7 separate regions of the Homo sapiens genome follow, and all the other regions are linked to region 6. The links are contacts of gene promoters, found by promoter capture Hi-C in blood cells and fetal thymus (Javierre and others, 2016). All regions are on one chromosome and are shown on one strand. The core of a region is centred on a gene start or on the middle of the fragment in contact, and the rest is flanking DNA. Distances in the headings are between cores, read along the strand shown. Region 1 overlaps SLC39A8 (solute carrier family 39 member 8). Region 2 overlaps BANK1 (B cell scaffold protein with ankyrin repeats 1). Region 3 overlaps BANK1 (B cell scaffold protein with ankyrin repeats 1). Region 4 overlaps BANK1 (B cell scaffold protein with ankyrin repeats 1). Region 5 overlaps SLC39A8 (solute carrier family 39 member 8). Region 6 holds the start of PPP3CA (protein phosphatase 3 catalytic subunit alpha). Region 7 overlaps BANK1 (B cell scaffold protein with ankyrin repeats 1).

What was found. The method cuts DNA at HindIII sites, captures the fragments that hold promoters and counts their contacts. A CHiCAGO score of 5 or more calls a contact.
Region 1: a contact is called between a fragment that was not itself captured here and the fragment with the promoter of PPP3CA in region 6, in 1 of 17 cell types (fetal thymus). The highest score is 8.9, in fetal thymus.
Region 2: a fragment that was not itself captured here is called in contact with the fragment with the promoter of PPP3CA in region 6 in 1 of 17 cell types (total B cells); the score reaches 6.2 in total B cells.
Region 3: a contact is called between a fragment that was not itself captured here and the fragment with the promoter of PPP3CA in region 6, in 2 of 17 cell types (naive B cells and total B cells). The highest score is 8.3, in naive B cells.
Region 4: a contact is called between a fragment that was not itself captured here and the fragment with the promoter of PPP3CA in region 6, in 1 of 17 cell types (naive B cells). The highest score is 6.3, in naive B cells.
Region 5: a contact is called between a fragment that was not itself captured here and the fragment with the promoter of PPP3CA in region 6, in 1 of 17 cell types (erythroblasts). The highest score is 6.7, in erythroblasts.
Region 7: a fragment that was not itself captured here is called in contact with the fragment with the promoter of PPP3CA in region 6 in 1 of 17 cell types (total B cells); the score reaches 6.0 in total B cells.

What each region holds. Positions count from the first base shown.
Region 1 is chr4:102,336,952-102,340,364 of GRCh38, forward strand. All of the region lies in intron 2 of SLC39A8 (solute carrier family 39 member 8), which reads right to left. Among named protein-coding and RNA genes, the nearest start is that of SLC39A8, 6.8 kb to the right of the region's middle. The HindIII fragment of the contact is 4,591 bases long and covers 1-3,413 here.
Region 2 is chr4:101,887,374-101,890,637 of GRCh38, forward strand. The region is part of intron 5 of BANK1 (B cell scaffold protein with ankyrin repeats 1); the gene reads left to right. Among named protein-coding and RNA genes, the nearest start is that of BANK1, 98 kb to the left of the region's middle. The HindIII fragment of the contact is 5,086 bases long and covers 1-3,264 here.
Region 3 is chr4:101,868,947-101,872,509 of GRCh38, forward strand. It overlaps BANK1 (B cell scaffold protein with ankyrin repeats 1), which reads left to right. Exons shown (of 17, transcript NM_017935.5): 5 at 1,559-1,698. Among named protein-coding and RNA genes, the nearest start is that of BANK1, 80 kb to the left of the region's middle. The HindIII fragment of the contact is 1,940 bases long and covers 575-2,514 here.
Region 4 is chr4:101,974,365-101,977,736 of GRCh38, forward strand. The region is part of intron 7 of BANK1 (B cell scaffold protein with ankyrin repeats 1); the gene reads left to right. Among named protein-coding and RNA genes, the nearest start is that of BANK1, 190 kb to the left of the region's middle. RefSeq lists a silencer at 2,775-2,975. The HindIII fragment of the contact is 2,107 bases long and covers 830-2,936 here.
Region 5 is chr4:102,268,466-102,272,103 of GRCh38, forward strand. All of the region lies in intron 6 of SLC39A8 (solute carrier family 39 member 8), which reads right to left. Among named protein-coding and RNA genes, the nearest start is that of SLC39A8, 75 kb to the right of the region's middle. RefSeq lists an enhancer at 1-164. The HindIII fragment of the contact is 840 bases long and covers 1,380-2,219 here.
Region 6 is chr4:101,346,275-101,349,512 of GRCh38, forward strand. PPP3CA (protein phosphatase 3 catalytic subunit alpha) reads right to left here and starts at 1,252. Exons shown (of 14, transcript NM_000944.5): 1 at 465-1,252. The coding sequence starts at 522. PPP3CA-DT (PPP3CA divergent transcript) reads left to right here and starts at 1,503. Exons shown (of 2, transcript NR_033874.1): 1 at 1,503-1,735; 2 at 2,050-2,609. RefSeq lists silencers at 1-27, 48-407, 878-1,487. The HindIII fragment of the contact is 5,765 bases long and covers 1-3,238 here.
Region 7 is chr4:101,991,878-101,995,442 of GRCh38, forward strand. The region is part of intron 7 of BANK1 (B cell scaffold protein with ankyrin repeats 1); the gene reads left to right. Among named protein-coding and RNA genes, the nearest start is that of BANK1, 200 kb to the left of the region's middle. The HindIII fragment of the contact is 1,009 bases long and covers 907-1,915 here.

The DNA of each region.
Region 1 (3,413 bases), core at 454-2,953, 990 kb after region 6:
TTTAGTAACATTCTTTTTTTAAAATAAATTGCATTGTAAATGACCCTAATACTAGCTGTTTGCACTTAGTAATGTGTACATCCCTTGAGGAAACACCACTTGGAATACAAGTAACTTGCAAACCCATTACCAGCCACATTAAATTGCCTTCATTAGATGTTGCTTTTCTTTTCCTGAGGATCACTGATCCTTCTCAACTTCAGGCCTTATTTTCCATTTCTATTTATATTCCTATTTTTCTCCCCCAATCCCTACTACCACCAAAAGGAATTCACTTTTCTCAAAAAAAAAAAAAAAGAATCAAAAGTATATTAAATTTAAAGAAAACACCTTTAAACAATTATTATGGTTGAAAAGTAATAGGTTTTTATGACTAGAAAGCAGAAAACTAAGTCCCTGCCCCTCAATATATCCCAAGATAAGAATAAATCATGGAAAGCATAACAGCTGCAAATCTCCCACCCAGATGAGAGAACAACCCTAGGGAACATCCCTAGAGAGAAAGATCTATCCCAATTATGGAAAGTTCACCTGATAACTGTGTGAGAAAGCTCAAACTGCCTCCTAGCAGCACTGTCTTACCTATAGTTAAGAGTCAGTGATTCTGTTGAAGTACTTGGCTCGGCTCACCTACTCTTCCCTCCTTGCTTCAACTCATTCCCCAACACCTATGCACAAACCACTTTCTCCAGTGTTGTGCAGTTAAGAATGCAATTGCTTCAGAGGCATCATAAGGGAAGATTTCCATTCTAAACCGCCAGAAGAGACAGTGGATTCATTGGCCGAAAACTTCTAGCATAAAAGTGAGAAATGAACTGAAAGGTTTCATACTAGACATGCCTGAAGTCTATCCATAGAAGAAAGTACTATTGTTGCTCAAAATATAGTCCCTTAAAAAAATTCATTATATATGAAACAATAAAAGAAAATTTCATCCTCTAAAAAAGAATTCATGTAATTCACATGAAAATTCATCACATTTGGTATAAGCAAGAGTTCAATCAATAAATTTTTTAAAAACCAAACCAGATAAGCCAAATTGACTGAGTTATAACTTTTCCATGAGGCATTTCCAACCCCAAAAAATCCCTCACCTTTCTAAACTAGTAGCAGATGTTTTCTAGTATCCATGTGACAATCATATATGGCCTTGTGATATGTTTTACAATGTCTGCTTTCGTGATTACTGCAGCTTTGCCTTCCATAGTCACTTTTCACAGTTTCCATCTTATTTCTTTTTTTTTTTTTTTTTCGAGACGGAGTCTTACTTTGTCACCCAGGCTGGAGTGCAGTGGCGCCATCTCGGCTCACTGCAAGCTCTGCCTCCCGGGTTCACGCCATTCTCCTGCCTCAGCCTCCTGAGTAGCTGGGACTACAGGCACCCACCACTACTCCCGGCTAATTTTTTGTATTTTTAGTAGAGATGGGGTTTCACCATGTTAACCAGGATGGTCTCGATCTCCTGACCTTGTGATCTGCCCCCCTCAGCCTCCCAAAGTGCTGGGATTACAGGCGTTAGCCACCGCGCCCAGCCTCCATCTTATTTCTTAATTATAAGGTCTCTGAGGACAAAGACAAGTCATCATCATCGTAGCCTCCACAGCTCTAGTACCATTTCCTTAATGTGACTAAGCAATGTAACCAGATAGGCAGTCGATGACTAGTAACTTCTCCCTGTAGTTCAAAATCTAAGGTCATGGTTGCTCTAGCTAGAGAAAGTATGGTTTTCTAGATTGTAATTCAAAAAATGCACTATAGCATAGTGTGTAAGACTGCCTGAGGTTCTACCACTTACTTCGTGACGTTGGTCCAGTTACTTAACCTCTCTGTGCCACATTTTTCTTACACATAAAATGAAGATAATAATGGGACCTTTATCATAGAGTTGGTATGAGTATGAAACATGATAATACAAATAAATTGGTTAAGGGAGTAATGCCACACAGTAAAAGATTAATAAATCCTAGCTATAATTATTACATTACATATAAAAGGGTTCATATGACTCCTAGAATAGTGGGTAAAGATGTGATTTTGGGAGTTAGATATGAAAGGAATGAAAAGCATTTTCCTAATGGATCCCAATCACACCTGGCATCAAGGCAAACTAAGCTCTTGACATCACAGTCAAATGAATTACGAATGTCCCTCATTTTCCCAAAGCCTTGAAATACAATCAACACACTGTACACAATCAACTTATGTGAGAGTGATCTAATAGATCAGAATGGGGCCATTGTCTTGGAGGATTCTTAACAAGAGACCTAGGTAACCTCACCCTCTGTCCTGCCCTTCCAGTTTCTCACCTGAACAAGCAGGTTAGAAGGCATTCCTAGAAGGTTTACCCCCACCATTTCTCAGCACATAAAGGGGAAAAAAAAAAAAGAACAAATGTTCTTTATCTCTTCTGTCCATAGTCAGTGCTTCCCAGAAACACCCTCATCTAACCCATCATTACCCCCACCCCAGGAAAAAGTGCAGTAGATGACAACAGGCAATGCAAAAAACATGTTTGCAGTATCCACACACATACATACACTCCTTTTTGCTACATACCACTAGCCTGGCCATCCATTAATATGAGCCCGGAGTTATTCTTTCTCCTTCTGGCATCACAGGGTCAGAAGATAATGAAGGAAGAGATCTAGCAATACTTAAATAAATAATGATTACAGGCAAAATATTGAAATAGAAAAGGCTTATCTTTGGGGCCTTTTGCATACTCTTCAGCCATGCCTGCTCTTCTTGAAGTCTCTGAAGGCAGAGCCTTTATATTACCTTCTGAGTTTCTCCAAATTCAAGTGGTCCTTACATCTCATGAAATCCACTGCAGATGGCTCCTTAGCTCCCACCTTGACCCACTCCAATACATTCCACACTCTCATGTCAGATTAATGTTCTGAAAACACAGGTCTTATCTCACATTGGTTTTTAAACACATTTATTCCTAGTGTTCCATTATTGAAACACTAAGCATGTGGGAGTTATTTATATCCCACTGCTCAAGGTCATTGCCAAGGTCTGATTGCAAAAATTCAAAAAATTGCAACCTCAGGCATAAATGGGTTAGTTCCTTAATCAGGCATATCACTGTTTCGTGCATTATAATTATATGTGCATATGTCATGTCTCCTCCAATAGACTGTAAAGTCATGTGAGGACTCAAATTATCAAACTCATCTTAAACCATCTTCACCCATCTATTCAAAAAAATTATAATGAATACATGTTATAAACCAGGCACTACACTAGTCTCTAGAGAGAGGAGTCAGACCATGCCCTTCAACTTGTTAAAAATCTTTTGGAGGGTAGAGAGAGGCAGCAGGGGTTATAGCCACATAAGCAGAAAACTGTAATACATATAAAATAATTTACATGTTATAATATAATTGCAATATATAATATGTTATAAT
Region 2 (3,264 bases), core at 718-3,217, 540 kb after region 6:
AAAGCCAGTTTGGAGGGTCACATCTCCTTATTGCTAGACTTACATGCTCTTCTTATATCATGATTACATTTCATGAGTTTTTGTATCTAAGAGTTCACATAATAGTATTTAGAGAAAATAGAATTTTTACTGGAAATTTTGCATATCTACACTTACAAGATTACATTTAATATTTACATTTAAACTTCTAAAAAATTCTGTCAGTTAATTATTATTGAGATTCATAGCTAATGAGTCCTGGAGCAGGCATTTAAATGCAGATTCCTTGAATCTCAAAACATATTTTCTTCATGTAATAATACCACTTGCAAGTATTTAAAGAGATTCTACAACTATATGAAAACCTAATCAATAATACATATAAAATCATTTTCATTGTTTTATATGTTTGTTTTTATATTTATAGTCACAGATATTGCAATTCAAAGAAATGATTCATTCAAAACAGAAAATTAAGTTGATAAAAGAAAATATCTCTTTTAGATTTATACATTTACATTATTATTTTAAATTAACTGCTTTGAGCTGAGCACGTATAAAGTTTTTAAAAAATCTTTGCATAACCCTAGAAAACATTTGCTTTGCTCTTTTTTTCTATCATTTTCTTTACAAGCTGCAGTAAGATTTTTTTAAAGATATGTAAACTATTTATCAAATTTCACTTTAAACGGCTGTTTTGGCTCTCTTTCATGGCACACATTTAAGAACAGAGCAACAAATGAGATGACCTTTCTTTTACTAGTGAAACTTAAACAAGCACAGCAATTTGTTATAAGAAGAAGAGCAAGGCTGTTTTCAGCTCAACCGTTGACTTTCCTTTTAGATACTTCTTGGCCTACCTCCATTTATGGAAGCTAGAAAGACCAGATTCCAACATTTTTAACTAACCTTGCAGTTAGACATATCACGTGAGAGAGTTTTCAACAACGAGACACAAGGGGACATCTTTGAAACTTTTGCTTTTCTGGTTAAACAGAGAAAAAGAATAGATATGGTTGGCTGTAGCCCCCTCTCCCAGTACCCCTACCTCCCACACACATCACTTTCCTCCCTCTTTCTGGCTAAACATCAGTATAATGTTGGGAACTGCAGTGGTGATCTTGAAGCCATGGGAGCATAATTTATTCTTTACTTAAATACTATTTCAGATTTTATCCTTCTCTCCACGATTAGAATGTAGGATTAAATTTACTGTGTTTAGAATGTAAAGATCTAAGTTAGAATCTTTATTTACCACTTATTAGCTCTGCCAATTTGCGTGTTACTGAATTTTTTGTATCATGCTTATCACCTCTATAAAAGTAGACATTTAGAAAAATCTACCTTGCAGGATGTTATAAAAGTTAGAGATAGCTTATATAGAGCCTGGCACATTAGCAGTGCTCCGCATGTGGTAGTTATTACTATTAGTTAAACTGTTTGAATCCGTTCATTGCATGCTTATTCCTATAACATATCCTTTTACAGCACTCCAGTGATCTGAAATACTTCCCAGCTATTTACATTATGTAATACTGTCCTAAAATGCTTTCAAATACAGCCTCTCGATGCCATTTTGCTCAGTGTTCACACCCCTCATCAAAGAGAGGAGTGAAATCCAACTTCGAAGGGGTGCTTTTATATAAGTATCTATATATCTCAAGGAATTCAGTTTTGTGTAATAAATATTTGGGGGGATCGTTAGTATTTAATTAAACTTATTTTTTAGATAATTGTACATTCATATATAGTTGTAGGTTATATAGAAAGGGACTGTGTATTATGGTAGTTTGTGTTTTTCAAGGACTTGGTTCATTTCATCTAAATCATCAAACTCATGTATGTAGAATTGTTCATATACTCCCTTTTATTCTTTTGATGTCTGCAGGGTTTGTATTGATATCTTTTTTTTCATTTGTGATATTTGTAATCTGCATTTTCTCCCTATTTTTCTTTGTAAGTCTTGCTAGAAGTTTGTCAATTTTATTGATCTTTTAAAAGAATCACAGGCCGAGGCGGGTGGATCATGAGGTCAGGAGATCGAGACCATCCTGGCTAACAAGGTGAAACCCCGTCTCTACTAAAAATACAAAAAATTAGCCGGGCGCGGTGGCGGGCGCCTGTAGTCCCAGCTACTCGGGAGGCTGAGGCAGGAGAATGGCGTGAACCCGGGAAGCGGAGCTTGCAGTGAGCCGAGATTGCGCCACTGCAGTCCGCAGTCCGGCCTGGGCGACAGAGCGAGACTCCGTCTCAAAAAAAAAAAAAAAAAAAAAAAAGAATCACTTGTTACTATAGTTTTTCTTTATTGTTTTCATACTTTCAATTTTGAGTTCAGCTGTTATACTTTTTGTTCTCTTGTTCTGCTTGCTTTGAGATTGTTATGTTCTTTTTCTGAATTCTTGAAGTAGGAACCTAGATAATTGATTTGAGACTTTCTCTCTTTTCCAATGTATTATAAAATTTTCTCAGCCCTCCTTTAGCTATGTTCCAAAAATTTTGATATGTTGTATTTCACTTTCATTCAGTTTAATGTATTTTTAAAATTCTGTTCAGAGTTTCCTTTTGACCCACAGATTACTTAGTAGCATTGTTGTTTGGTTTCTTAATATTTGGACACTTTCCTATGATCTTTCTGTTATGGATTTCTAGTTTGATTCCATGCGGTCAGAAAAGACACTGTATGATTTAAATTATTCTAAATTTGTTAATATTTGTTTTATGCCTCAGGATATGATCTATCTTGGTATAAGTTTCTCAAACCCTTGGAAAGAATGTATTCTGCTGTTACTGGATGGAGTGGTCTATGTATGTGGATTGATGCTGATTGGTTAGATCATTGGGATGATGGTGTGTTTGAATTTTTTTATTTTTTCCTGATTTTCTGTCTACCAATTGTAGAAAGAGAGATATTTAAGTCATCACTGTCATTGTGGAGTTGTCTGTTTCTCCTTTCAGTTCTGTCCATTTTTCCTTCACATTTTTTGAAGTTTTGTTTTTTGGTGCATATGTATTCAGGATTACTATGTCCTCTTGATGGATTGACTCTATCATTATATAAGGTCCCTTTCTGTCTCCTGTAAATTTTTTTGCTCTGATGTCTATTTTATTGATATTAATATAGCCATTTTTGCTTTCCTTTGTAATTTTTGCATGCTATATCTGTTTTATTCTTCTACTTAAACCTGCTAATTTTACTTATTATAAATATTATTAAAGTATAATTTTATTTATTATAAAAACCTGATTTTATTTATTATAAAAAATAAATAAATTTTATAATTATTA
Region 3 (3,563 bases), core at 295-2,794, 520 kb after region 6:
TACTCTAAAATCGACATCATTATCGGTAGATCCACCAGTAAAATTTTGAGTTAACTAAGGATTCAATATATAAGAAATAAATCAGTTCAGTTTCATGTTAGATTAAAAATATATAGAATATTTATCTACTCTGTATCAAAAAACTACCAAGCAAATCTCACCATATACCTCTCCTGATTCATTACCGATTTTCTTTCAAAAAGTTAACTCCCCATGGTAAAACTCCTAATCTCTTTTGTGATAAACAAAATTAATATCTTATTTCAAAATAATTTTTATGACTTATCATAACATTTAAATTTAAATTTATCTTTATAAAATCTACTGAAATTGATTTCATTTGACTCCAATAACTCCAGAACTTCCATTACCATATGCGTACTGCTGTAGCTGATGAGATGTGCTTTAAAACTTTCATTTTTGTTTGTTGTAATTTCTCTTACATTCTCTATTGGATGGATACTTCTTTGGGAAGAGAGAGCTCCTATTTTTCTACATGCATCTTCTTTGTAATACAGGCGAGGTGTCTACTCAAGAAATATGAGGAAGAAATTTCAGCTCCTTGACCTAGTTAAGCTTAAGATTGCTTTCGTTGCATTTAAGTTTCCCTCAGCAATATTATAAGAAGTCCTTTAACAGCTTCATGAGATAAAGTGAAATTAATACTTAATCCTTAAAAACTTTTAAATATTCAAAGCTCTTATATTTAATGACCTATTCCTAACCCTAGATATTTGAGTGACAGTTTTCTGGGAGAATTTGGGAAATATCTCAATGACAGATTAAAAGCACTTAAAATTTGTTCCACAGATGAATTTAAAGAATTACATTTTGTTTAGTATTCTTACACTAAAACACAATAACTTTTTTATTGAAATGATTGTTTATTGATATTCTTTCATAGAAAGTCCTAAATTCTTATATAACTTTAATTCTGCTCATATATTACAGCACAATTCACAATGTAGTGTATCATTCATTTTGAACAACTTGTTCTCAAAAAGGCTTTGGATGAATGTATGATGTAAACAGTACTTCAGTATCAGGGGATTAAACCTTGCCTTTCCCAGGATTTTTCATTGCAGTCAATTGAATACAAATTGTATCATTTAAATCAGCTGTACTCTTTCAAATTACTATTTTTGAGACACTTGCCTGTAATTAATTAAATTGTTTTCATAAGATAAATAATAAATACCTAACTTTTGATAAATGGCTATACTTTTCCAAATTCTAAAGAATTATGTAAAGATTATAGATTATTACAAAGAAAAGTTATACTAGTAAGTAAGTAGGGACAAATAATTTAGTGCTTTACTTTTATTGTTATTTTAACATGTTTTTATATTTTAAGTTTATTTTTAAGCAAATAAGTCTAAAATTGTACATTTCATTTTGTGTTTTCCAACTACCAAGAATTTTAAAAATGATTTTAAGTGCTAGAGATGAGTAAAAGTGTTATGAATTTTTAAAGGCTTCTTTTATATTCTCTAAAAGATGTAATAGTATGAATATGCATTATATACTCTGCCCCTAACCCTTGTTTGTTTTTCATAAGAGTTTCCTGCTGGTTCAGTCCATGTCAATGTCTACTGTGATGGAATCGTTAAAGCTACAACCAAAATTAAGTACTACCCAACAGCAAAGGCAAAGGAATGCCTATTCAGAATGGCAGATTCAGGAGAGAGTTTGTGCCAGGTAAGTTAATCTTTCCACGAAGTTAATCATAATGTAAGCTGAAGAGCTAATGAAGGATAAGAGGATTCATGCTTTGGTATAAGTTTGAATGTGGATTGAATAACAGTGAATTACTACCAATCAATAGGAAGGGAAGAGGCAACCTCTGTTGTGCCAAAATGCAGACAAATTACTTTGCCTAGGTCAAAAAAAAACAGATAATGTCAATGGAAAACAGCTTATTCATTACAAGGTAGCCATTGTGATGGGCTCATTTTAAAGCTGTTACAAGCAGATAAAGGGAGAGCAATTAGAAAGAACTCCTAAGAAATGAATTCCTTCTTTATTCAGATCTGCATAACACAAAGTAAAATGAAAGTCTAATCATCTGTCTCATGCTTTGAGATTAAGGAGTTAGACAAACCAAAATATCACCAAAAAGGGAACGTGTGGTGTCAATCTAGAAATTGTTACTTTCATGTGGACACATCTAAGCTCAGTGTATGTTTTTCTTAGTTTCATTTATCATTGTTATCTGATTGTGAAAATTATTTTTTCTTTGTGATGTTTATTGGGAATATGTGCTTATTCCATCAAATTTTCAGAGTGAAATGCCATTTCTATTTATAACAATTTGATAACTAGAATTGTAACTTTGCTTATTTGTCTCAGTTTTTTGCGTGGGTGAGAGGTAGAAGAGGGTAGAGAAAGGAAGTCGAAGTATCTTCAAATTTACCATAAAATTTACCATAAAAACCTATCTTCAAATTTACCATAAAAACCTGTAAGGTTTTTAACAAAACTGTCAATGATAATGTAGCTGACAAGTTTTCATGAAGCTTTATGTGTTTAAACTAGTTTAGAATTGGAGGATTTGTTATTTCATGTGACACATTTTTCTATTAGGGTTTTATTTTTATATTATATGAACGACATATTTTAGAACAACAGAAAAGGTAAACATTAAGACAGGTAGTGAAATAACATTTGTCAAAATGGAGAGTCTGAGGACATTTGACAAAATGTCTATATTGTAATTCCAAAGCAAGTAGAAAAGTAATAGCTTAAAAAACAGACTGTTTCATTTTCTTGTGACAAGTCCACCTTATCCTCTACTTAAAAATTATATTCATAACAAAAAAGATTAATAAAGGTAATATATTGCATTGTGACTATCCAGTCAGTGTAGAAGTAAAGTAGTCTCCAAACATATTTTCTGTTGGTCTTTCTGTTGTGGGTGGGGATCTTTGAATATAGTAAAAATTAAATGTAATTTATGACTCCTGGACAATTGGTCAGGATGCTATAAATACACAAGTCATGATTTCTTTTACAGCTTGAAGTGAAAACAAAAAGTGAGTTTGCTAGTTTTTAGATAAGTAGAAAAATGCTGTTTCATTTTTACCCTCTGTACTGGAAATGAGGGGAAAGAAAGGGTCATTGCTTTTCTCAAGGATTTTTCTCTACCACCAAGCTCTGGCGGCCTGTAGAAGGGAGAATGTTGGGCAGGCACAGGATGATTCAGGTTTTACCATCAGGAGAGAGCCATTTTAAGTCAGAGGTCTGAGTAATGATGGACAGAATTACTCTAACCCAGTGGCAGCAAACCATGGCATGGCAAGGAGAGACATTAAGAGATTGTTTAATTTATGTAATTTAAGGCAGGTTTAGAGGTTTTGCAACTGTCATGAGGGCACCTAGAAGTATTGTGGGATTAGAGAAAACAAAATCTGAGACTGGGATCTCAGACCAGATCAAGCTGTACTGTAACAGGGGATAGAAGGAAAGGCTGCACTTGAGTCAGTCTCCCAAACATCTTGGACTAAGTGTGACATGGGGTTTGTCTAAATCTTCTGGCATCTGGACCACACAGGGTATCTGTGAAC
Region 4 (3,372 bases), core at 633-3,132, 630 kb after region 6:
ATTTCTGCCACATTGGATAAAAAGCAGAGAGAGGAGTTGTAATGTTCATAATACCTCCTACCTTTTCATCAGTTTAATCACTAGAGCAGTGCAAGTTTATCTCATGTCATCACTAGCTTCTTAGATTGAAAGTAAGATTGCCAGCAATGGACTGATAATAACAACCTTCCACTGTGCCAAATAATTCCATGGTCTCCAATAGTTTGTTGTGCAGTAACAGATTTTTGCCAGTAATGTTATATGGCCCTAAATCTAATACATTTTAAACTGTAGCTCTTGTGTTATGTCTTATTGAGATTCTACTCTACCCTTTGTGATACTGACTTTTTCATTATGAGTTTCATCTTGAGAACATAGCTCTATACCTGATGTCAGGAGTTCGAGACCAGCCTGGCCAACATGGTGAAACCCCATCTTTACTAAAAATACAAAAAAAAAAAAAATTAGCTGGGCACGGTGGCAGGTGCCTGTAATCCCAGCTACTCGGGAGGCTGAGGCAGGAGAATCACTTGAACCTGGGAAGTGGAGGTTGCAGTGAGCCAAGATCATGCCGTTGCACTCCAGCCTGAGCAACAAGAGTGAAACTCCGTCTCAGAATAAATAAATAAACTGAAACATTTAGGTGCAGTGTGCTCATTGTAACCTACAAGCCAAACTAATAAACATGGCTTCCCAATTGCTTAACAAAAGAGAGAGAGGGACTGGGGGAAAAAAATCTGCTTTATTCTAAAGCCATTTTCAGAGATGTCAGTGGAAAAATTCTCCAAAATCCTTAGAAGGAAGAACTGACTTCACAAGTAGTTTCTTCTATGATAGGAGAGTTCATCTAAGCTTGTTTTAAATAAATCATATAAGCAGATTTGGAGATAACATTTAGATTGTCATTAAACACATTTAGCTAACTCTTTTTTCCTTTTATTCAGACTGAGAGCAATGATATAAATTATTTAACTTCATCAGATCTCCAGTTAAAGATGAGTTGTTCATGTAAGTCTAGACTATCTAAATTATGCCCATCATAAAGGCTTACTGCTTTTTATATTTCCTCTGGTCTTGAAGCCATTACAGTTCATTAGAGAGATTGTAGAATATGGTGGTTAGAGCATGGAATGTGCAGGCAGACTTCTTTGGTTCAAAACTTTGCTCTGCCTCTTTCTAGTTATTTGTCCAGAGACAGTTCTCTCTGTGTCTGTTTCCTCATCTGTAAAATGGCAGTGCTAATAATAAAATCACCACCTTCATAAGATTATTGCAAGGACTAAATGAGTTAATGCATTAAAAGTGGTTTTATTAGTGGCTAGCAATAACACTCAATGTTAGCTGGAATTATTATCATTTGTTTTATTTGCTGGATTTTCTGATAAGCTGAAATCTTTTTGAGTGCTGTTTCTGCTCTTTATCCTTAGTAATGAGCACAGATCAAGGATGTGGCAAATGATCAATCACTTTATTAAATGAATAAATAAATGAATATTCATATTGTTATAATGAGAATGGAACCAGTGACTGATTATAACCACCAATAGTGTTTGATAACTTCCGTCCTTTCTCTGTGCGAATTTCCGCATTCAGATATGCTATCCTTTCTTTTAGACTCTCAAAGGTCTTTTCTCAAAGACCTTTTCCTACAACATATCCTCCCCAAACCAGGGGAAGAAGCTGATTAGAAATTAATTCATTCAGTAAATAATTTTCAGCACCTTGTATGTGTATAAACTAGCGCTGAAAGGCATTTAAAGAAACATCTCAGGTTTCCAGTTTGTCCAAAGATCTGAAGTTCCTGTGGTCATAAGCAGTGAATTAGAGATATTGCTCTTTGTTGCCTCTTTTCAGTATTCTAAATACAGCTTGGCTGTCTCTGGATCTATACTTCAATGCCACAGGGAAAATCGATAGTAATAACACAAGATGCTGAGAGTAGGGGTTAGGTTTCTCCATTTTCTAAACTAATCTTCTAAGTCTGAGACTTTCCTGTGAAGTGGGAAAGTATTGAACTATCCAGGATTCTGATTAATGCTGGCAAAGAATACACAAAAATAATACACAAAAAGATGGCTGAAGAGATTTTGAGTTATTTTAATGGCATATTTAATTCAGAGAGTACATGTAGAATTGGCATCCTGACATTTTCTTTAATTTTCTAGCCAGAGTAAAGTATTGATTAGACAATTTTCTGCTTTGAGCATTAATATATCTAAATGGAAATTTTGGATAATAAAGAGTCCAGGTTTGCTCCCTTCACATGCCAGATAAACATCATATTTTAATTTGCAATTATAAATTTCATTTGATTATCACTAGAATGCCATATGCTTCCTATGAATATCATAAAATTTATCTGAGTTTAGTCAGTTTTATAACTGGTGCTTCTGAAAATCTTATTCTTTAGAACAACAATGTTAAGAAAATAAATCATCTGCAAACTTAGTCAAAACAGGCATGTCATGTGGGCAACTTGTAAAAGATTTAAAAGTATCAGAGATTTTGTATGCAAGCTGAATCTTACGGTGGAATATTCAGGTAGCATTATTTTACAGGATGCAGTATTCAATTTATTTCTATTATAACAAAAGTAATAATATGAATCAGCAAATATTATGAATTAGAAAGTAAAATTACTTTAGTGTTGTGAAAGTCATCCAGATTTTGTGCATCTAATTAAGTCTGATGCATGTAGTCAGGGATGAAGAAAGTCCCTGAATTCCAAGAGATGCTGTTTCAGTCAGGATAGGCTAGCTGCAATAACAGAAAACACAGAATTCTCAGTGGCTAAAGATGACACTCATTTACACTGCACATTGAAAGCAGTTCAGCTTGGGGCTTCTGCTCATCATAATCACTAAGGACCCAGCCTGGCAGACTTCATCATTACTCATATTTCCATGCTTCTTGCAGCATAAGGAAGGGAATGTGGTGAATCACACACTGGTTCTTAAAGCTTCCTGACAAAGCCAGGCACATGGCCAAGCCTAACTCAAGGAGGAGAGAGAAGTGTAGTCCAACTTTATGATGTGCCCAAAAGAGGAGCATCAAAATATTTTAAACAGCACTAATGACGCAGATTAGCCCCAAAATTGTTCTTGTCACTGTGGTCGTTAAATGTGACTATTTGTATCTTTTTCATCATAAACTGTGTTGTTATTTATTAAATCAAGATATTCCTGTGATGTGGCCCATTCTTCCACTTTATTGGCTATTAACTTAATTGGAGCATCAGGACCACAATTCTTAAGAATACAATTATTTCCAGACAAATGTAGTCTCTGAGTTCTTCTAATTTCTTTCTTTCATGTATTTTCTGACCTTATATCAATAAGATTACATGAATTACCATCCTGAGTGAGATCCATGGTCATTCCAGCCAAAAATCCT
Region 5 (3,638 bases), core at 550-3,049, 920 kb after region 6:
ACAATTTAAATGTGAAATCCACAACTAGAGCATGATGAATGACATCAGCAACATTTGTTCTAACCCCTCCTATGCCACCATGTGACAGGGAGCAAGTTATCACAGAGTTCCTTCAACTGTGAAATGAAGACATTGTACTAAATGATTCATTTATTTATCAACAACTTATTGAGTTTCCATTCTGTTCCAGGTACCCTGTGGAGGGTTTAGGCTGTAACAATATGGTCTCTACCAGCTCCAAAGCTTAATTATTTTCTTAACAAATTGCATGAAGTGTAAATGGAACAGGCTAGCCTTTACACTAACACTTCCTTTCATGTAGAAACAATTAAAAAATAGAAAATCCTGTGATGGACTCTTTGTAGGAATTTAGATTTCCAGAAAATTTACAAAATTGTACAAAATCAAATGACAAATGCCAACTAAAACACTTTCCAGAAGTTGTAGAAAAAGATAAAATGCAAATTCATTTTTAAGTACAAAAGCACTTTGCAATTAACTGGAGAACATTTTATTCCTAATTCTCCTCCTCTCACCTCTACCTAAGCAGCTAATCATTACATTTATTGAACTTCTGAAATTTGTAAAACACTCTGTTGAATGCTATAGGAAATACACAGAAATGGAAAACACAGCTTCTGTCTTCAAGAAGTGTATTTACATTGGAGAAACAAGTCATAATATATATGGATACATTAAAAAAAAAACATGCAATATATATCCAACAGAGAGGGGCTTACTTCAGAGCAACCATCTAAGAGGTTTTACAGTTACTCCAATATCACTTCACCACTCCAAACACTTTGGGGACCAACACTTTCAGAATCAGCCTTAGATCCTGCAATACATCTCTTTACTATTTCGTTAGTGGCAAATCTGCACCTTTGGATTTTTGTTTGTTTGTAGGCACAGATAAAAGCATTTGGAGCAAATATTTTTTTAATTAATATGAAATGAATGGGAAACTGTTAGTAATAGGATTCATCATCATTGTCATCACCAATGTGGTCGTAGTAGAAATAGTAACAGCAAAGGCACATAGCATTTATAATGTGCTAGGCACTGTTCTAAGCACTTCAAATACCGAATTCATTTGGAACAATTCTATGAGGAAAGTACAACTGTTACCATCATTTTATAGTTGAGGAAATTAAAGCACAAAAAGGTTGGTAAACTTACCCAGAGATACAAAAAAAGAGTGAATGGGCATTTTTGGCAACAGTGCTTTACTACTACACACATATCGGGGATGGGAATTCTTCTCTGTAATAGGATCTGAAGGTAATTCGCAAGGAGACTTCCCCACCTCTCAGAAAACTCTTCTGAACGCTTGATGCAACATTGAGTAAGTATCAAATCTTTTTTATTTTAAGAAACAAAGCTTATCCGCATAAAAAATTCTATCTTTTCTTAAAATGTGGGCTTTTTATTTTATAGCTGTATCTTAAACGCACAACACAATAAACAATCATAATTTAGCACAGGTGGATCGGGTAGTTTGCATAAAAAATGCCCCAGAGCGGGAAGCAATTACAGCTGAAGGAGAAACAAAGGTGGTCATAGGGAAAGCCACAGAGGAAGTGACCTGGGCTTTGTAAAACTTAATGCCGTGATATACTTAATGAGATTATTTTGAATTAAAGCAGTTGTTTTCATCTTCCAATCTAATTTGTCTAATTACATGTTTAAAATTTCCTTATTGTGATGACTTCAGAAGAAGACTACAAAACCAAGTCTTGACTACCTGATATCACTACAGAGTCTGTATACAAACACCCTTAATTTTACAGAAGAAATTAAATTAATATATCAGGAATGATTCTCATACCTCTAAGTACAGATATTATTGACTCTATTTATTATGCCTCATGCTTTGGTCCCAAATGATACTGTTGAGCAGGTAAGAGTTATACATTTTTAATAGTTTTGGAACAAACCAAAGTCAGCAAACCTTCACAGAAACTTCTTTTTTAATTCACCTAGAATTAAATCACTGAGCAGAGAGAACACTAAATTCAAGTTCCTGTAGTTAAATTAGTGAATATGCCTATCTCTCTCTTTCCTTTTTAAATTTTTGTTTTCTATTGTTATTGTTGTTCACTTGCTTGCTTTCTTGTCTGAGTTTTACTCTAAATATGAGGCTATTTCTATCCTCAGCCATGATGAGGCAATTCAGCCTAGTGAAAAGACACTAAGTCTGGAATCTAAAACTGAGTTCAAGCTTGGCTGTGAGAAGAATTACCGTGTAATCTTCAGCAAGACTTGTAACACCTTTCACTTAGTTATTAATGGGGATGGAAGTCAAAGCAATGTGTAGTGTTATCAGAATGGGGGAGAAAGAATATCATGCACCAAAGTTAAAAAAATAGAGGGAGACTATGTTGAATCCCAACATAAATTGGAGGGCAAAAAACAAAATTTTTTTCAAAAAAAGTACTTAGAAATTAAAATGGAGAAAACAAATGGGCTTATTGCAGAACAGTTTAAGGAAGGAGGAGAAAGTTGTAGAGGATGAGGAGGCCTGGGGGAATAGGGAGCACAAGGAAAGGGAGAAGTAGCATGAGGAGGAGGAGGAGGAAGACAAGTATAAGGAGGATGAGAAGGAGGATGAGGAAGAGGATGAAGAGAAGGATGATTAGGAGGAGGACAAGGTGGAGCATGTGGAGAAGGAGGAAAAGGAAAACAGGGAGAACAAGGAGAAGGAAACGAGCAAGCATGAGTAAGAGGAGCAGGAAGAGGACTAAAAGGAGGAGAAAGATAAGGACAGACAAGAAGGACACAAAGGAGGAGGTGAAGAATATATGGAAGAGTCTCTTTTAATAAGTACAGAATGTGAATCTAATTCTATTCCACTAAATCTCATAAAAGGCCATCACAGAGGATAGCTTCAGTAATAAAGTGAACAAGAAAATCTGATTGTCACTCAGTATCCTTCATCAACCATCCAAATGTTTGCTTAATGGACCCACATATAAAGCACAGAGTGGTGCAGAGGGAGGATATATATAGGTTCAGCATTCTCTTCTCCTACCAGGGGGAATCTGGCTTTCCAGCACTAAAGAAGTCCCAAACTTCAAAAGCCAAGGCTGATGCTGAGCCCCCAAAAAGCTATCACTGTCCAACAGGGCAAGAGGACCAGGTGGCTGTATGTGGTAGCAGAATGATTCCACTGGATTCCTCCCATTATAAGGGGATGCTCTTGGACTCACAAAGATAGACATATACAATATATGTCTTCCCTGCCTTCAGTGCCTCTGCAAGCACCATCATTCATGGACTTATAGTGCAACTGATATATAGCCAAGGTTTCCTGTGAAAACTATCTCCTAACCATTTTTTAGCAAAGGAAGTGAGACAGTGGGCTCAATACATATAATTCATGGATCACATCACCTGCACCCTCTAGTAGCAACCAGTTTGACAGAATGATGAAATGTCCTGATGAAGCCTCAGCCAGGGTGCAAGCCAAGAGATAACACCCTGAGAGGTTGGAGTTCTGTTCATAGGTTGGGCAGCCAAGTATATGGTGTCATCTCTGCTGTAGAGAATGCACAAATCCAGGAACCAAGAGGTGAGAGTAAAAGGGGTATAAGTCAGGCTCAGGGGCTCCTGCCAGTAATCCCAGCACTATGGGATGC
Region 6 (3,238 bases), core at 2-2,501:
CCACGGCCACATAAAAATGCCGTATTAATTTTTAAAAAGCCATCAATCACCCCTCCCTCTGCAGAAGAAAACCATAAACCCGATCCCATGCAAGCCTGTGAGCAGAGCCACCCACTTCCTATTTCTGTCACAGCAGCTACACCCTACCAGCAACCACCCCCCGGGCGCCCCCTCCCACCACCGCCACCCCCGCCGCCACCTCCCCGCGGCTCAGCCATTTGCCAACTGACGCCCCCGTCAATAAAAATGCCCCAAGTGAGGCTGGGTGGGACGCGTGGGGGAAGGGCGCCGCGGGGGCGGGGGGTTCGCGGGGTTCGCGGGTTGCACAATATCCTAGAAGGTCCGCGGCTGGAGCGGACAGAGGAGAACCTGGGGCGGGGGAGGGGAGGAAAGGCGAGGCGAGGCAAGCTGCCCTGGCGCCTGCGGCACACGGTGCACCCAGGCCACCGCGGCGCTCCGCTTACCTTTCACCACCCTGTCGGTCGTCGACAACTTGGGATCAATTGCCTTGGGCTCGGACATCTCCAGCTGCCGGAGGACAGCGACGCGCTGCTCGTCCGTCCGACTGCACACCCCGACCGGACCGGCGGGCCAGACACTCAACGCCGCCGCCGCCGCCGCCGCCGCCGCGCTGCAAACCGCTCGGCTGGAGGTCTAGGCTCTGAGCTGGCTTTAAAGTTGCTGCCTTTTCCGCGCGTCCCTCCTCCGCCGCCGCCGCCTTCACTCCTCCTCCGCCGCTGCCGCCAGCCCCGCCGACTCGCTCCGGGCTGCGCGTGTGTGGTGGTTATTTATTTATTTTCTGAGCACGCCTCCCGGTTCTTCTTTTATTCTTGGGGGAAGGGGGATGGGGAGGAGAAGCGCACACACGAGCACCCACCCCGGCACGGAGACCCAGCACCGCGGAATGGAGCCCCACGCGCGCACACACGGCCAGGATTAAGACCGATCACATGGGGAAGGCCGGGGGCGAGGGAGGAGAGGCAGGGCCGCCGATGTCAGTGCCACCAGCCGCACCTTGGCGTCCCCGGCGGCGGAGAGGCGGCCGCCGCTGCTGCCGCTGCTGCTGCCGCTGCCGCTGTTGCTGCTGCCGCTGCCCCTGCTTCTCCACACAGAGCGCCGCCGCTGGTGCCGCGGCCGCCGGAGACGTCCCGCCGCCGCGATCGCCCGCGCTCGCCTCTGCCTCCCCGCGCCGCTCCTCCACTCACCAAGGCACAGCCGCCGAGCTCGGCAGACACAGTCCCGGGCACAACCTACCCCCCTCCGCCGCCGCCGCCGCCGCCAACACCGCGCCCGCCTCCGCCTCCTCCCCTTCCTCCTCCCGGCCCCCGCCTCTTGCGCGCCTGCAGCCTCCTCCTCCCCACTGAGCCCGCCCCCGACCTCCCGCCCCGACGCCGGAGTTCCTCGCGTTCATTGGCTAGAGGGCGCATCACTCAGTGCCAGGTGGCGGCCTCCCCGCTTGTCCCGCCTCCCGCTCCTCCTCATTGTCCCCGCCCCTTGCTCTGTTTTCTTCCAGCTGCCGGACCAGCGGGCCTGCCGCCTCTACGGACCAGTCCCTGCTCAGGTGTCACTTTTGCTGGCAGGCCGAGATTAGGGCAGGAGAGTGGGCAAGGCGTCGCGGCCAGGAGGAGAAGGGCTCTACCACGCCACCCTCCTTTGGCCTCCGAACGCGGACCCCGCACACACACACCCGCGCCTCTTTGGCAAGCGTGCCTTGTCGGCTGGGTTAAGCCGCAGTGTGAGTAGCCAAGTGCAGAGGGTGTCTCCGGGTGTGTGCGTGGCCCACAAGAGGGCAAGAAGAGAGAAGGCGGGGATAGGAGGGAAGAGGGTGGGGGTGAGAGGCAGCCCTGAGAGGGCGGAGGAAGGAAGAGGCTGGGAGCTCGGCGCCCGCGGCGCAGCTGCCGTCGCTGCCGCAGCTGTCCAGGGAGGATCGCCAAAACGGCGACGAATAAACAACTTACCTTGCGGAGAAGAGCTACGACTGCGATGCGGTGTACGGTTGTTTTTGCTTTTGCGTTGGCGGCTTAGGGGCTGTTACTGTGTCCCACCCAGGCGTGCACACCGAGCGGCGGGGCGCTGTGGAACGCGGGAGCGGACTAGCGGAGGAGGATGCGGACCAAGCCCCAGCGACCCAGGGCAACTCGGAGCTACCTCGGGCAGCCCTGCGGGTCTCCGAGGAGAACCGAGGAGACGGGAGAAACATGGGAGAGGGTGGCCTTTTCCCTGTTCACACACACATGCACGCAGCCACTGGCCGGGACAGTTGACACCCATCTTCCTTCCCTGCTCCTTCCAGTCATTCTACACCCGCTTGGTGCTGCCAGTGCGGGCAGGGCCTTGGAGCCCAAAGCGGATCCCCACACTTGTCCCTACGGTCGGAAGGAAAGTAGAGGAGAGAAAGTCAGGCGCGGCAGGGCTAAGAGCAATAGTGGCCCAAATGTTCCTGGCCCGCCTGCTGCGCCACAGAGTCTGAAAAGCGGGTCTCCGTCTACCAGAAGGTGACCTCCACACAGCCCCTCTCCCCGACCAACTGCAGCACCCAAGGACTGGCAACGTGGTTGGAGCTTTTGGGGGGAATTATGAAGAAATCTGAATAAATTTCTCACCCTTCATGTTTCCTGTTTTATTTCCAAAGTCCTTCAGTATCAGGTTTTTCCTATTTCCTCAATTGGACCACGGGTCCAATAAAAGGTTTAAAATACACACACACACACACACACACACACACACACACAAAGAAAACAAAAACAAAAAAAAAAGTTTAGGGAGCTGGGAGATGAAGCCAAAAGAAATGTTTTGGAGACAAGGATTAGATTAAAGCTCAAACTTGAAAATCAATTTTGAGTAAGAGACTGATTGTGCTGCAGCGTGACTTTGATGTGGACTGCACGGAATAGAAACACACACTAGATACCTCTGTGGAGGCCTAGCAAAAGGAGCAGACGCAGGGTGTGTCCCACCAAGATAGGGAGGCTGCCACTGGCACTGAGATTCTGCTGCCCAATTTCCAACCCCAGGATACTGGGTGGCAATTAGACAATTCATTCAATAAAGATATTTTCTGTACTCCTTTTATTTATATGCCAGACTTTGTGGTGGGTAATTAGGTGGGGAGGGAGTGTATTTGAAAATTGTCCTTGCCCTCAATAAAGCCTAAAATTTTCAGAGAACATAAAATTATGAGCTCTGAGAGGTCACTGTAATCTCAGGAAGGGGTTGTTGGAAACAGCCTCCTGAGCAC
Region 7 (3,565 bases), core at 161-2,660, 650 kb after region 6:
CTAGTCTTTAAGGGATACACAGAGAGAAGGTTTCCATGAAATACTCACCACCACCTACAAACATGTAAAATTCTGCCTGAAGCCTGAGAGCAAATGAACCACTGCCTTTTGGTTCATGTGGGTATGTAGGACATAAGAAATGCTTTCAACCCATGTTACGGAAACCCTTCAATTTGCAGATGAAAAATAGGAGGCTCAGGGATGTTTAGAGGCTTGTTAAAATTATTTGGCTAGTAGATTGTCATGCTAAAAATTGAACTCAGTTTTTATTATCACTCTAATCATGTGCTTTTCTTACTGAACCATGTTGACATTTTAGTTCAATGGGAAGAACAAAGAACAATGACTTTTAAAACTATAAATCAACAAGAATGTTTGTGAAATCATGCATTGATGACCAGTGGATTTCTCAATAAAATCAACTATGAATATAATTTTAAAAAGAAGGGCTACAAAATAATGTAGATATTTGTAAGTAAAACCTCCCAACCAAAATCACAAAATCATGGCATAGGAAATATGGGCACAATAATATTTTTTTGTTCAGACAAAAATATCTTGGATTATGTACTTTTAAATTCAAAATTTTTTTACCATTATCTTACCAGTCTTTTTATACAGCTTGTGTTTAGACATAAGCGTGATGTGTGCAGCAGTTCATAGAAACCATGTTAGAAAAGTTCATAGAAACCATGTTAGAAAAGCACATAGAAACATTATTCAGGATTTTTCTTTTTACATATCTCTTTGGAGTATGACTAATTCTGCACACAACTTCTCCCCACCTGGCTTCATTTAAATTGCAAATAAATAAAGAACAAGATGATACATTTCCCAAAGTTCATAACATATGCTAGATGACCTGCTAAACATCAAAAGATAATGGAAGTAAATATCTATTACTTAAGCTTCAAGCATGTTTTTATTTTGTGTCAAAATATTATCTGATTCCTCAAATACTCGGAGATCTAAAAAAGGTACTTAAGAAGCACCACCACCACAATGGTGAACCAACTATCTCTGTCGCCCAGAACTGAGGGTTTTCCTAGGATTCAGGACTTTCAGAGCTAAAATTTAGACAGTCTCAGGTCGATCACCCTACAGTCGTCCTAAATGTGTAGGTTCACAAGCCCTTTAGGAACTGTTGTTGATCCCCTGGACAGCTAATCCAGACCACTCTTAACGGCACAGTTGGCTCTCATGGAGACCATAAGTTATTTTCCATCTTTCTGGGTCAGGATTTTATGTAATCTGTTAACTGTGAATCTAGTCATTGATTCTGTACTGGACCTGCCTAAGTGAGTGGCTGTAAGTATGCATGTCTGCATGCTCTAGTTTTGAAAGAAATGGGAAGTAATTCTAAAACAGGAGGCCTAAAACAGCTGGAAAAAGTTGTACATCGTTTTCTCATACTTTCTGGTTAGGCTTTCACCAGCAGTAGCAATCATCAGTAGCTTTTTGGCAATTTACTTTCTTCTCTCCTGAACTACTAGCCTAGTGAATCTCCATGAAACCCTTTCATTTTTCTGATTCTAGAATGCTTTGTTACAGAAAGCAACAGCAAGAGGGAAGTACAGCTTAGGGAGTAAATGTGGTAAACTGGGGCGTGGAGGTATACAGACTTTCAGGGCCTGACATTTTTAAATACATTGCCAAAGCTGACCAAGCATATTTCCTTTCCAGCATTAATAATTACTTGGCACTGAAGAAATGCATGCTGATAGAGCACTTTATGGTATGATATTTTATTATCTCTGTCTTGAAAAATTGTAGCCACTGATAATCTAATAGAGAGAAGAAACTCACTTCATTAATTTATTATAGCCCAGAATCCTGGGCAGGGCGTTTGATTACGGAGAATATTCCTTTATTTCTGCCAAATTAAAAAGCTGGCACAACACAGTAGATGATGTAAAGCTTTTGGCTAAATGCCTTCCAGATTCCATTTTCCAAAAGATCTACCAAGAATTTGCAGTTTAAGCTTTTCTTACCAATTTTATATTTGCTTGGTTTCTCCTGATTTATTTTTACTTTAATAACAAGCTCACACTGGCTCTATTAGATATTGTTGTCTTTGTCTACATGGTGCCATACAGTCAGAGGCCTAGGCCCTGACCCTGTCAGTACTGCTAATCCTTGAGTCTGTGACCTTGTGCATAGCACCTCATCGCACTGGGCTTCTGTTTCTTTATCTGTGAGATGGAGCATTTGGACTAAGGTCTCCTCCAGGCTTAATATCTTATGATTCATTTTGGATTAAAAGTTGAGGAAAAATAAGTATGACGTATTTTTTTCAGAGACTTTAACAAAAGGAACATATCTAAGTTTTGTTAAATTCCAATTAAAGAATGAGTTATCTGATCCAGTCTTCAGTTTGCAGTGTACAGTATTTAGAGCCCAGGAGCTATTATGATGGATGCTACAGAAATGCTTATTGTATTCACAGACTATTCCTGATGGAAACAAAACATCTGGAGGATTTCTGCAAGGCGAGGATTCACTCATAAATGACCCTTTTGCTTTTGGACAGGGTTGTACATTATTTTGTCTGCCCTACTTTGAGAGAGTTTCACCATCTGTCTAATGTTAGCAATTATTTGTTTTCCTAATTAATTGATAGAATCTGTTTTTTTAAAAAATATAATTGCATCATGTCAATTTAAGAAAAAGGAAGTGGCTACATGCTGTTGTACATGGTGCATGAAAATGGAATCAGAAAAGCAGTATGTTAGGGCTGATAGGGGCCTTAGAGATCAATTATTCCAACTCCCTCATTTTGTAGATGAGGAAAAACACTCAGCTCATTGTTAGCAAAGCAGGAAACCTGTATCTTTTGATTCCTATCGTATCTTTCTCATTCATGGTAGTACATTTCTTGTGATATTTAAAATTCTTCAATTTCAAAATGAGAGTGAAACTAGAAAAATCACTTTATTGCACAGAGAAGTTTCATGGGGTCACAGCTGAGAAGCCAATCATTTTACAAGGTTTATAACAACAACAAAAAAAGTTGTCTCTTTTTTTATCCCAACTTTTGAATTCTTATTGTCATAATTTACTTTTTGATATTGCCTCTTTTTTAAAATTATACTTTAAGTTTTGGGAGACATGTGCAGAACGTGCCAGTTTGTTGCATAGGTATACATGTGCCATGGTGGTTTGCTGCACCCATCAACCCGTCATCTACATTAGGTATTTCTCCTAATGCTATCCTTCCCCTAACCCCCCACCACCTGACAGGCCCTGGTGTGTGATGTTCCCCTCCCTGTGTCCATGCGTTCTGATTCAGCTCCCTCTTATGAGTGAGAACATGTGGTATTTGGTTTTCTGTTCCTGTGTTAGTTTGCTGAGAATGATGGTTTCCAACTTCACCTATGTCCCTGCAAAGGACATGAACTCATTCTTCTTTATGGCTGCATAGTACTCCATGTTGTATATGTGTCACATTTGCTTTATCCAGTCTATCATTAATGGGCATTTTGGTTGGTTACAAATCTTTGCTATTATAAATAGTGCTGCAATAAACATGTATGTGCATGTGTCTTTATAGTAGAATTATTTATAA